Linked DNA regions of Homo sapiens: all the other regions are linked to region 3. The links are contacts of gene promoters, found by promoter capture Hi-C in blood cells and fetal thymus (Javierre and others, 2016). All regions are on one chromosome and are shown on one strand. The core of a region is centred on a gene start or on the middle of the fragment in contact, and the rest is flanking DNA. Distances in the headings are between cores, read along the strand shown.

The links. The method cuts DNA at HindIII sites, captures the fragments that hold promoters and counts their contacts. A CHiCAGO score of 5 or more calls a contact.
Region 1: a contact is called between a fragment that was not itself captured here and the fragment with the promoter of TJP3 in region 3, in 1 of 17 cell types (endothelial precursors). The highest score is 6.8, in endothelial precursors.
Region 2: a contact is called between a fragment that was not itself captured here and the fragment with the promoter of TJP3 in region 3, in 2 of 17 cell types (megakaryocytes and endothelial precursors). The highest score is 5.8, in megakaryocytes.

What each region holds. Positions count from the first base shown.
Region 1 is chr19:3,534,210-3,538,589 of GRCh38, reverse strand. FZR1 (fizzy and cell division cycle 20 related 1) reads right to left here. Exons shown (of 14, transcript NM_016263.4): 13 at 4,077-4,169; 14 at 256-3,795. The coding sequence ends at 3,754. It also overlaps a transcript of MFSD12 not described here. Among named protein-coding and RNA genes, the nearest start is that of TEKTIP1, 2.8 kb to the left of the region's middle. The HindIII fragment of the contact is 1,938 bases long and covers 763-2,700 here.
Region 2 is chr19:3,514,232-3,518,211 of GRCh38, reverse strand. All of the region lies in intron 1 of FZR1 (fizzy and cell division cycle 20 related 1), which reads right to left. LOC124904617 (a long non-coding RNA gene) reads left to right here. Exons shown (of 2, transcript XR_007067099.1): 2 at 1-49. Among named protein-coding and RNA genes, the nearest start is that of FZR1, 9.9 kb to the right of the region's middle. RefSeq lists enhancers at 1-166, 447-1,271, 1,272-2,098. The HindIII fragment of the contact is 8,857 bases long and covers 1-3,980 here.
Region 3 is chr19:3,706,707-3,711,078 of GRCh38, reverse strand. TJP3 (tight junction protein 3) reads right to left here and starts at 2,695. Exons shown (of 21, transcript NM_001267560.2): 1 at 2,518-2,695. RefSeq lists enhancers at 544-1,089, 1,925-2,586, 2,587-3,250. The HindIII fragment of the contact is 2,818 bases long and covers 301-3,118 here.

The sequences.
Region 1 (4,380 bases), core at 482-2,981, 170 kb after region 3:
ATGCACCTTGAGGATGTCACGCTCAGTGAGAGACACCAGACACAGAAGGGTACGCTGTGATCCCACTTCTATGAAATGTCCAGGACAGACCAATCCACAGAATCAGGGAGAGGATTCGTGGGTGCCGGGACTGGGGAGGGGGACCTGGGGGTGACTAGGTGACATAATGGGGACAGGGCTGCCTTCTGGGTGATGAGAATGTTCTGGAATCAGATGGGATGGCTGCACGGCGTGGTGAAGGTACTGAACGCCACCTCACTGTAAGACGGTAGATTTTGTATTTTACCACAATAAACAAAACAAAACAAAACCAAACCAAACCCAACAAACATCCAGAAACCTCCTGCCCTGCCCTGCCCCTCCTCTGGCTGGGCCCGGCCTTGGGTGGGGGCGGAGCCTGCACCCTGGTCTCCGCTTCCCCTGCCCTTGTCAGGTCCCCACAGATACGACCCTGCCTTTCCCATCTGGACACGCACCCAGGAGCTCCACTCCCTCGGCGTAGGTGCCCAAGTCCTCCCTGAGGCCCACAAGGCCCTGCACGCCCTGCCCTCCTCTCCTCACTCTGTTCCTCCCGCATACCAGGTGCCGTCCTGCCCCAGGGCCTTTGCATGGCTGTGCCCTTTGCCTCTCACCCAGGCGTCCCTGCCTTCTCCAGCCCTGGCTGAAATGCCAGGCTTGTGGTGAGCCTCTGATCCAAGGCCGCCCTTCCCCAAGGCCCCCTCCCCACCCTTGTGACGCCACCTCCTCACTTCCTCATAAGCTTCTCTGTCTCTGGGCTGTGTCCCCCATGCCAGCTCCACATGGGCCAGGTCTGCTCGGTTTCATCATCTCCAATGCCCAGGATGGGGCCTGCCCCAGCTCCTTCACCCTCTTCTCAGGCACCGCGCAAGAGCGAGCCTCAAAACCACCTGGGGCCTCCTGGCTGCCAGGACCCCCACAGCCTCCCCTGCAGCCCCCGGCCCCCCGGCCTCCTGGCTCCCTCAGCCACTTCCCAGCCATTCCTCCTGTTCTCTCCGCCCAGACCCCGGGGAGGCACCAGCACCCCCTGGGCCAGGCTCCTGCCTCCTGCACCTCTCATCGCAGAACCTATGGCAGCCTGAGTTTTTCAATTCTCTTTCCCTCTCACTGCACCAGCTACATTCCAGGATCAACAGAAAAGTTGCAGCCCGCCCTGCGGGGCCCTTGGTCAGCCTCCCCCTCCATCTGGGCGTCTCCCAACCACTGCCAGGGTCGCCCCAGGAAGCGATGGCCCCACTGGCCTTCGTCTGCCTGTCGGGTGGAGCTGACAGCAGAGGCACCTGCCCCAGCGCTGCTGAGTGGCCCCCGTGCCCCGCAAAGCCTGACGTACACTCCCCTGGGGCCCCTCCACCTCCTCTCAGCTGTCCTGGGCCATGGGGAACCAATTCCCCCATTTCTACACGAGCCCTGGCCCATCATCATGGGACCCTCCCACCACGGCCTTCACCCCCCTTGCTCTGTCCCTCCTGGCCCCATCTGGCCAGCCCTGGGGGTGAACTCAGCCCAGCAGTGCCCACCCTCCCTCCCTGATGGTGTCAACCGAGCACCTCCTCCCTGGAACAGGGCCGTCCAGCTGGAGCGCAGGGACTTGCCTGGAGTCCAGTCCTTGGCCCTGCAGGATTGTGGCCGGCGCCCTGGCAGACGGGCCTGGGAGGCGTCTCTGCGGCCTTCGAGGGCTGAGCTCCCCATCTGTGAAATGCAGGCCTGGGAAGCCCCTCAGAAGCTGCTTCTGCAGCTCCAGGGCCAGATGGGGACTCTAGGGCAGGACCGTGTGACCCCACCCGAGCCGGGGACCTAGAGCCAGCCAGTCCCGGCCACACATGAATCCACGTGTTTAATGACAGCGTCACTGCATTACATGAGAAACAAGGCTGGTCTGTCCTGGGAGCTCCCCCACCCCCTAGCATGGGCAGAACCAGCCCCAACACAAACCTCACGCCGTCCGCCTGGCCCTGCGGCGGTTCCCAGTCCCAGGAGGAGCCTCTGAAGGCCACTGTGGGTTGTGCACTGAGCCAGCCAAGCCCTGACGCCCACAGCGACAAGGCGGCTCTTTGGCAACTGCGGGCAGGGGCGGGCATGGGCGAAGGCAGGGTTGGTTTTCTTATTTAAAAACCTTGAAACAGTAAGACCGTGACCACTGGAAATCCACACTGCCACGTGCACCAGCACCCCCTGCACAGGCGCACAGTGAGGGGTCCGCGCCCCACCCAGACAGAGGTGGGGAGAGTCTCTCCAGTGAATGTGGAAGATCGACCCGCTTGAAATGACGGGGCTTTAAAACCAGGACCTCATCCCCCAGGAGCAGTGGGTGGGTCCTGGCCCCTCCCCGTCTAGCCTCAAACATTTCCAGGACTAGTCAACAAAAACACAAAACAAATCCAAAGAAAAGTCACAAATACATATGTACACATGCACGCCAACCCCACTGGGGACAGACACCAGGATGTTGGGATGTGGGGAGTGGGGAGTGGGGGTTCCCAAGCACAGCAGGGTGGTGGGTGGGACCCTCCAACCCCAGCCCGCCCCACCCTCTCCACGTCCCCACCGATGAAATGGGAAGGGGTGGTGGGGGGGTGAGGGGGCAGTGCTCAGCTCAGGCCCCACTCCCCTGCCTTGCCTCCCTCCCTGCCTGCTGTGCAGCCTGGGAGCATGAGACAGAGAAGCAGAGGAGCCTGGGAAGCTTCTCGAAGGATGGAGGGCGCCCACCTCCTGGACCCCTTGGGTCTCCTTGGCTTCCCCACGGCTGTTGGCGCTGGTGGACAGGACAGGTGAAGACACAGGCAGCCTGGGGGCGGGGGCCACACCGCTGCTGGCCTCCACAGGACCCAGCCACCCAGCAGGCATGGGGGACGCAAGTCTTGCGCAGGGAAGGAGGACGCTGGCCCTGTGAGGGCACGTGTTGGCGAATGCACGAAGACGTGGCATCTGTTGTGCTCCTCTCCAGCCAGGGCAGTGAGCAGGTCCGGGTTCAGTTCTCCTGGGGTGATAAGTCCAGAGCAGACATCCTCCTCCAGTGTGAGGGTGACGCTTGGCCAGGATGCACAGGCCCATCTGAAGCCCACTGACCGCCGGGCGATGGCCATGACACAGATGCTTCCAGAGAGACTGCTGCTTCGAGCAGTGACAGCAGAGGTGGCTGCAAGGATGCCGTGAAGCCCAGGTGGGGACTGTCTCTTGGATCCACAGGCTGGCTCCGCCAGTGGCCCCGAGCCACCTGCCCAGGCCTACATGCCTTGGTCTGGCCTTGGGGCTGGTCTTGGGTTTGACATGGTGGGGTGCAGCCATGAATGGGCAACCGGGGTCTCAGGCCCCCACCAATCAGCCCTGGCGTCTGGTGGTCTGTTCTGTGCAGACGTGGGCAGTTCCAGGAAGAGCATGCGGCTCCGGTGGGCAGGTGATGAACAGACGGAGGCAGTGAGGGTCCCAGGGGGCATCCGTCGCTCTGAGTACAGACGGTCTGAGCCGGGACCGTCCAATGTGGTTCTCGCCCTTTGGGAAGGGAGACAGAGCCCCTGCTGCTGAGGGTCCCCGACCACGTGCCCACCCCAGATACTGGTGGACATGGTTCACAATCAGGCATTTAATGAGACTCCAGGATCCTCCAGGCCCAGCTCCCCGCCCGCCCAGCCGCCTTCCTCGGGGGACAAGCGCTGGGAAGGCAGAGTCCATGCAAGCTGAGGAGCTGGGGTCCTCCGACTCTGGACAGCTGGTGTGGCACGGTCCTGCCCGGCAGGTTTACCGGATCCTGGTGAAGAGGTTGAGCACAGACACAGACTCCTGCAGACACATGGGGATGGCAGATGCGCTGAGCCGCAGGCCCAGGGAGGAAGCTGCCTGGAGGGTCCCCAAGGCTTTGGGGCTTGGTCCTGAGGGGCTGGGAGGTGCCAGTTCAGCCTCGGCCTGCCACACTGCCCCGACACATGACCCAGAATTTGAGGTGAGGGAAGCTCGGAAGTGGGGGAACCCAGAGGAGGGTACGCCCGAGGACAGTGGGGACAGGGACGACCCTGGGACAGGCTGGGGCGGGGGCGAGTGGCGCTGATACCGACCCACTTTACCTTTGTCGAACGGGTTTTGCTAAAGACGTTCCAGAACCTCAGGGTCTCGTCTCCAGCACCAGTGACGATGGCCTCCCCATCAGGGGACATTGCCTGTGGACAGGAGGGAAGCACCCCATGTCTCTGGGCCTCTAGGTGCCTCGGGACAGTGCTGGGGGACTGAAGGAGAGGGGAGCAAGGTGTCGGGTGGCTGGGCCCCCCAGACTCTGGAGCCAGGAGGGAGGGGCAGGCTGGGGCCACCACAAGCAGAAACCAAGGTTGGAGCCTTTTTTTTTTTTTTTTTTTTAATTTTAAGACGGGGTCT
Region 2 (3,980 bases), core at 88-2,587, 190 kb after region 3:
TGAAACCTCGTCTCTACTAAAAAATAAAAATTAGCTGGGCATGGTGGCATATGCTTGTAATCCTAGCTACTAGGGAGGCTGAGGCAGGTGAATCACTTGAACCTGGAAGGCGGAGGTTGCAGTGAGCAGAGATCGTGCCACTGCACTCCAGCCTGGGTGACACAGTGAGACTCTGTCTCAAAAAAAAAAAAAAAAAAAAAGAAAGAAACAGTTAGCTGGGTGTGGTGGCATACATCTGTAGTCCCAGGACTCAGGAGGCTGAGGTGGAGGCTGCAGTGAGCTGAGATCGCACCACTGCACTCCAGCCTGGGCAACAGTGCAAGACACTGTCTCAGGAAGGAAAAAAAAAAAAAAAGAACTTTGTTTAGTTACAAATCACAGCATTTCAGATGACCCTTTTTTGTTTATCTTGTTTCACACAGAGACCTTGGTGATGCAATTCATTTCCAGAGACCTAAGTGTGGACAAACAGGAGCGCCCTGGAGTTTTTATCTTTTTAAAATTTTTATTCATTTATTTTTCTGAGATAGAGTCTCACTCTTTTTGCCCAGGCTGGAGTGCAGTGGTGCAATCTCGGCACACTGCAACCTCTGCCTCCCGGGTTCAAGCAATTCTCCTGCCTCAGCTTCTCAAGTAGCTGGGATTACAGGCACTCACCACCACACCCAGCTATTTTTTTGTATTTTTAGTAGAGAGGGGGTTTCATCATGTTGGTCAGGCTAGTCTTGAACTCCTGACCTCAGGTGATCCACACGCCTCAGCTTCCCAAAGTGCTGGGATTACAGGTGTGAGCCACAGCGCCCAGCCAGGATTTTTATTTTTGAGACCGGGTCTCACTCTGTCACCTAGGCTGGAGAGCAGTGGTGCAATTATGGCTTACTGCAGCCTTTGCCTCCTAGACTCAAGTGATCCTCCTGCCTCAGCCTCTGGAGGAGCTGCGACCACAGGTGTACTCCACCAGACCCAGCCACTTTTTGTATTTTTTGTAGAGATGGAGGCTTCCCATGTTGCCCAGGCTGGTCTCGAACTTCTGGGCTCAAGCAATCTGCCTGCCTCTGCCTCCCAGAGTGCTGGGGTTACAGGTGTGAGCCACCGCGCCCAGCTGGCATTTTTCCAGAATGAGAGAATGTAAACAAGTGTCACTGGCAGCAGCGGTGGTAACCGCGTGCACTGAGGCACTTGCTGGCAGAGTCTGGTTGTGATTGGCTAAAATATCATCCCCCACTTCCCCAGAACACTGATGCTGCCCTGAAGTCAGCACTGAAAGCAAATACACCGGGCGCCAGCTGCAGCTGCACACGGCCCCTGGCACACATCGCTGCCCAGCAGCACATGGCTGCACCTGACAAGCCCTCCGGGGCAACAGAGACGCCGTGAGCCAATGGCCCAAACGTTGCCAGGTGGGCAGCAGCTGTCAGTCTACTGGCCACACAACTCACTCAACGCTGCCCAAGGCTGGTGGGCAAAACCACAGGGCCCAGGCCTGCCCAGCAGCCTGAGACCCAGCTCCTGTCTGTCCCTGCAGTGAGGGCAGGGGTGCACAAGACGGGTGTGCAGACTGTCTTCCCACCTCCGAGATCTGGAGGGTCCTGTATCCCGGGCCTGGGGCCTCCCGGGGCACCTCACCTGGACACTTGCCCGGTGCTGCTAGCGGTGCTCAGCTCAGCTCCGGGACCCCCAGCGACCCCTCTAAGCCCCTCGCTCAGCTGCGCTGCAGGAAGAACAAAATCCAGGAGCCATAAGAGGCATGGCTGTGGAATTCAACACCGGGAAAATTGGGAGTCCGCAGGGCAGACACACCACCAACACAGTTAAAAAACAGATGACAAACTGAGGGAAGCACCTGCCACCCACAGGAGAGCCCAAAGTAGCAAAGGACACCAACAAACCGCACTGGGAAAGGACCAGTCCTCCCTCGCAGTCAGGAGCTGCCAATCCAACCGAGGACACCACCCTCCCGCCCGTCAGACGGTGGGGGAGGCTGTGGGCTGGGGGACTCGGCCTCACCATCCCAGGCGTGGGGAGAGACAGCCACACGCACTCATGGTTGGCAGAAGCTGCAAACTGCTACGGCTTCAAAGGAAGGCAATTTGGCAACTGCTTCCAAAATTTAAAAAATGCACATCCTCTGTGATGCGGTATTTCTACTTCTAAGAATTTATCCTTAGAAACTCAGCATGCATGTGTGCAGAGATGGAGTCACTGCGGCAGCTAGTCAGAGTGGAAGACGCAAGAGGCCATCAGACAGGGAGCGGAAGAGGCTGTGAGACCCACTGCACAGAAAAATGGCCATGCAGAGCACACTGCTCCCAGAAGGTTCGAAAAGCGGCTGGTCATGGGGTGGGTGGGGAGAGGAAGGAGAGGACGAGGATTGGGGAGGAAAGAAGCCTTATTTCTCCTGGCACCTCGTTTTGTACTTCTTGAATTCCTTTTTTTTTTTTTTTTAGAGACGGAGTCTGGCTCTGTCACCCAGGCTGGACTGCAGTGGTGCGATCTCTGCTCACTGCAAGCTCCGCCTCCTGGTTCACACCATTCTCCTGCCTCAGCCTCCCGAGTAGCTGGGACTACAGGGGCCCGCCACTGTAGTGCCTAATTTTTTGTATTTTTAGTAGAGACGGGGTTTCACAGTATTAGCCAGGATGGTTTCGATCTCCTGACCTTGTGATCCGCCCGCCTCGGCCTCCCAAAGTGCTGGGATTACAAGCGTGAGCCACCGCGCCCGGCCTGTACTTCTAGAATTCTGTATCACGTGAACTGTGAGGTATTCAAAAAAACAAACCACGGTCAGAGATGGGCCAGGCAGGCTCCGGATGAGACCGGGCACCACCGCATTCTCCCTCCTTTGCTGGATGCTCGGAAGGTTTCATCGTAAAAGGTTAGAGTAGAGAGAAATCAGGATCTTAAGCTGCTGTTAAGTAATTCCTGAGCACAGACAACGTGTGTGGCCGTGTGGAAAGGCTCAGACCGGGTCGAGGGAGTTTAGCAGCAACCCGGACCCTCGCTGCACATCAGCAGTGAATCAGTGAGTGACTCGTGCTCCGCCAGGCCCTGCAGAGGTTCTTGTCCCTGGCCCGGGGGTGCCTAGTGGGGATGCTGCTGTGGCTCTGCCTGTGTGGCCGACACCTGCAGCTTGGTTGCCCTGGTCTGGGTGGTGGACCCGGGCCCTGGGCCACCGGGCTTCCTGCTGCCCCATCCCCTTGGCAGGGCACTGCCCTGTGGGTCCTGCAAACCCCCTGGGCCAGCTCATAGGGAAGGTCCACCTTTCACCCCCTGGGCCCCAGAATGAAGAGCCAGGAGGCCTCCTTCTGCCACTGCCCCGGGCAAGCCTTCAGTCTCGAGCTTCTTCCTGTTCCCCTGGGAAATGGGCATGACCCAGTCACCTGACAAAACAGTGACAGGGCCCCCGTACAGAGGGAGACGCCCTGGGATAAATATGTGGAAAAAAATGGAGTCGGCCCCTGCTCACACCAGACACCAGAATAAGCCTCCGATGGGGCAGACAGCACAAACCAGGGGGACTCCAGCTCCTGAGATTCACCTCCTCTCTCCCTCCCACTCAGGGTATGGATTTCAATGTGTGCAGCCTCCTGGGACCTCAGCAGGGCAGAGGATCATGGGACGCAGAGTCTCTTGGGGGTCCATGGAATCCCATAACCCAGGGGGTCTTAACCAGGGTGATTCTGCCCCCAGGGTATGATATATGGTGATGTCTGGGGACATCTGTGGTTGTCATGACTGGGGGTGCCCCTGGCGTGGAGTGGGTGGAGGCCAGGGACGCTGCTCAGCACCCTGTAGTGCCCAGGACGGCCGCACCCCAGAGAACGATCCGGCCCCAATGTCCACAGGGTGCAAGGGCAGAGACCCTGCTCTCGGGCAAAACCAGGGAAGTGACTTGAATGAGCGAGACCTGCAGAGTGTGGCCAGGCATCCCCAGCCCCATCCCCACTGCACCAGTGGGGAGAGGAGGAAAGGGAGCCGAT
Region 3 (4,372 bases), core at 1,446-3,945:
ACAAAAAATTAGCCGGGTGTGGTGGCGGGCGCCTGTAGTCCCAGCTACTCGGGAGGCTGAGGCAGGAGTATGGCGTGAACCCGGGAGGCGGAGCTTGCAGTGAGCCGAGATCGCGCCACCGCACTCCAGCCTGGGCGACAGAGCGAGACTCCGTTTCAAAAAAATATAAAAAGTAAAATAAAGTTACAAAGCGCCTCTCACGCATGTTACCCTCTGTGCAGCCATTGGCTCCATTACTGCGCTCTTGTTTCATGTCTGTCTTTCCCCACCAAAATATGCGCCCCACGAGAGCAGGAAGCTTGGCCTGCCTTGCTCACTGCTGAATCTCCAAGGCCTGGTGACCCCACACTCGCGCATACAGTAAGTGCACAATAAATGCCCGTTCGCTCCCTGGGCGACCCCTCCCCCCAGCCTAGGCTTCCGCTAACCTCAATCCATTCCAAAGGGTGTCAGGTTCCACCCTGAGCAAACACAGCTCCCCTGGCCCCTGGCCAGCCCTAAAGAGGAAGAACAAGTACCCATACTCCCTGCCCTGGACTTTCCCCGGGACTCAGGGCCACGAGGAAGCACCAAGCCAGGGGGCAGGACTTTCTCGAGATGCTGAGCCTGAGGCATCAGCTGGGGGCAGGGCCAGCCTCCAGAGCACCACCCCCGCCACCAGCTCCCTGTCCTCTGCGTCTTGACTCTTGGCCGCCTGACATTTCTACTTGGCTGTGCGGCCCGGGGTAAGCGGCTGTCCTTCTCTGAGCCAGGGTTCATCCTCTACAAACCAGGAAGCTGATGAGACCAGACTCCGATTCGGACCGGGATAGCTCGTCTTGACCCCAGAATGACCGAGAATCTGTTACCCGCTTTATTACATCCGGCACTCAACAGCCCTGTGCCTTGGTGACTCCATATCCCCCCACCCCTTTTTTTTTTTTTTTTTTTGAGACAGAGTCTCACTCTGTTGTCCAGGCTGGAGTGCAGTGGCACAATCTCGGCTCACTGCAACCTCCACCTCCTGGGTTCAAGCAATTCTCCTGCCTCAGCCTCCGGAGTAGCTGGGATTACAAGTGCTTGCCACCATATTCGGCTCATTTTTTGTATTTTTAGTAGAGACAGGGTTCCACCATGTTGGCCAGGCTGGTCTCGAACTCCTGACCTTGTGATCCACTCGCCTCGACCTCCCAAAGTGCTGGGATTACAGGCGTGAGCCACCGCGCCCGGCCCTCAATATCCCCATTTTACAGAGCAGGAAACAGAGGCCCGGAGAGAAGGGAGGTGTGGAAGCCAGATCTAACTGAGTCCACGGGTTTGCTCTCAAAACCCAGGCAAGGTGGGATCCATGTCGCCCACCCCCACGGACTCCCGAATCTCAAGCAAGCCTGCTCCCTGGGAGCTCTGCAGCCACACAGCCACAAGGTGACCCCAAATGCCGGGCCGCTCTGTCCCCCACTATGCGATCATCCATGCCTCCTCGGCCCCGGGGGACCCTCTTGGTTCTGGAGAGAGACTTGAGATGCAATCGGACACTTGGCTCACGAGGAAGCTCCCTTGGTCTTCCCATTTGGGAGCAAATGACCCAGAAAAACACTTTTGCTGCCGACCCCTCCCCTCTCTGGCTCTGAGCGCTCCTTCCTCCTTCCCCTCTGCCCCATCCCACAGAGATTTTGCTCGGAGGAGTAAAGATTAGAAAAAGAAGTCTGGGCGCAGTGGCTTGCGCCTGTAATCCCAGCACTTTGGGAGGCCGAGGGGGTTGGATCACCTGAGGTCAGGAGTTCGAGACCAGCCTGGCCAACATGGTGAAACCCCATCTCTACTAAAAATACAAAAATTAGCTGGGCATAGTGGTGGGCGCTTGTAATCCCAGCTACTCGGGAGGCAGAGGTGGAGGCAGAGGTTGCAGTGAGCCAAGATCGCACCACTGCACTCCAGCCTGGGCAACAAGAGCAAAACTCCGTCTCAAAAAAAAAATTAGCAAAAGAAAGGCCACCCCAATCCCTCCCTGCAAAGCTCCTGGAGGTTCCAGCGGTGAGAACAGGGTGAGGGGTTGGGGGGCGGGAGACGCAGTTGTTTCAAAACTTGGGAGCCTTTTAAGAAGTTCCAGGAGGCTCAGAGATGAGTGAGGTCGCAGCCTTTCCCACCTGTCACCTCCTAGCCTCGGGCTGCAGGAGGTAAACCCAGGCTCCGTCTGGACTGATATCCCCTCCCCTCCTCAGTTAGGGGGATCAGAGACCAACCTGTGCCCCTTTGCCGCCTCCCCGGTCCCTGCGCCACCTAGGTAACAATGACCCTTTTAAGTTTCCAGCTCAGCGTCCTGGGCAGGCCGCCAGGTGCAGTAACTGCCGGTCAGATAATCCCTACGAAACTATGTCAGATGCCCACGCAGGAGTGTCAGTTTCCTGCTTTCCGAGGAGCCGGGGAGACAGCTCGTGGTGGGGGAGGTTGGGGGGGAGTCTAAGGACCCTCAGCTGGGGAAGGCCAGCTCAGACAATGCACACTGGGTGGAAAAGCACAGTGGGGCGGGGGACTTACCTGTCTAGGAGGCTGGGTGGCCTCTGGGCAGGCAGCAGGTGCCAGGGCCCGGGTGCCTGCCTGGCACGGGTGGTGGGGAGGGAACCCGAGGCTTGTAGCTCTGGCCTCCCCACCTGTTTGACCAACTTTTCCTCTCTTGTGGTGGCAACAGGGAGGCAGGTCCCCTGCCAGTGGAACTGACGACCACAGACACAGGGAGACGGACCAGGGTGAGGGGCGGGCCAGCAGGAGGACTGGGTGTGTGGCTCTGTCGCAAGGTGCCCTCACGTGGGAGCAACTGGCCTTAACCCCTGCTTGCCCAGAGGTGAGCTTGCTCCTGCCTGTGCCCTCACCGCCGAGGCCCTGGTATCAAGCGTCCGCACATGGTAGGTGCTTAGGAAACCCTCGTTGGCTACATTCAGACATGAATGGACCGCACTCCCGGAGTCCCCCTCCCTCCTGCTTCTTGCATCTGGAGCTGCCCAGTCTCTGTGCTTGCTGAGCCTCCTGCCAGGCACGCCGGCCCATCAGGCTGTGGCTTGGCGCACTCCCTTCCCCACGCAGATCTGTGCGCAGTCTGCCTCTCTGCTACGAAGTGACTGGGTTCCTACGTACAGAAGCTTCTGCCACTTCCCCGCTGTGTGGCTTTGGGCAAATTACAGGGGCTTCTTGCTGTCCTCATCTAAAAAACAAGAAAGGGTCAGGTGTGGTGGCTCACACCTGTAATTCCAGCACTTTGGGAGGCCGAGGTGGGAGGATCACTTGAGCCTGGGAATTTGAGACCAGCCTGGGTAACACGGTGAAACCCATCTCTAGAAAAATTTTTATATATCTTTTGTTTGTTGTTTGTTTTGAGATGGAGTCTCCCTCTGTCACCCAGGCTGGAGTGCAGTGGCGCGATCTCGGCTCACTGCAACCTCCGCCTCCTGGGTTCAAGTGATTCTTCTGCCTCAGCCTCCCAAGTAGCTGGGATTACAGGCGTGCACCACCACGCCCAGCTAATTTTTTTTTTTTTTTTCAGTAGAGACGGGGTTTTCCTATGTTGGCCAGGCTGGTCTCAAACTCCTGACCTCAAGTGATCTGCCCGCCTCGGCCTCCCAAAGTGTTGGGATTACAGGCGTGAGCCACCGAGCCTGGCCTAGAAAAGTTTTTTTGTTGTTGCTGCTGGCTGTTGTTGGTTTTGTTTTGTTTTTTGTTTTTATTTTATTTTTTTTTTATTTTTTTGAGACAGAGTCTTGCTATGTTGCCCAGGCTGGAGTGCAATGGCTTGATCTCGGCCCACTGCAACCTTTGCCTCCCGGTTTCAAGTGATTCTCCTGCCTCAGCCTCCCGAGTAGCTGGGATTGCATTACAGGCACCAGCCATCATGCCCAGCTAATTTTTGTATTTTTGTAGAGACGGAGTTTCACCATATTGGCCAAGCTGGTCTTGAACTCCTGGCCTCAGGTGATCCGCCTGCCTTGGCCTCTCAAAGTGCTGAGATTACAGGCGTGAGCCACCACGCCCAGCCCAGAAAACTTTTTTAAAAATTAGCCAGATGTGGTGGTACACACCTGTAGTCCCAGAAACTCAGGAGGCTGAGGTGGGAGGATCAATTGACCCTGGGAGGTTGAGGCTGCAGAGAGCTATGACTGTGCCACTGCACTCCAACCTGGGTGACAGAGCAAGATCCTATCTCAATAAAATAAAATTAACCAGGAAGGGTTGGGCATGATGGCTCACACCTATAATCTCAGTACTTTGGAGGCCAAGGTGGCAGGATCACTTGAGGCCAGGAATTCGAGACCAGTCTGGGCAACATAGTGAGACACCCCCCCATCTTTACCAGTACATTAAAATTAAAATTTAAAAAATTAAGTCTGGGCTCAATGGCTCA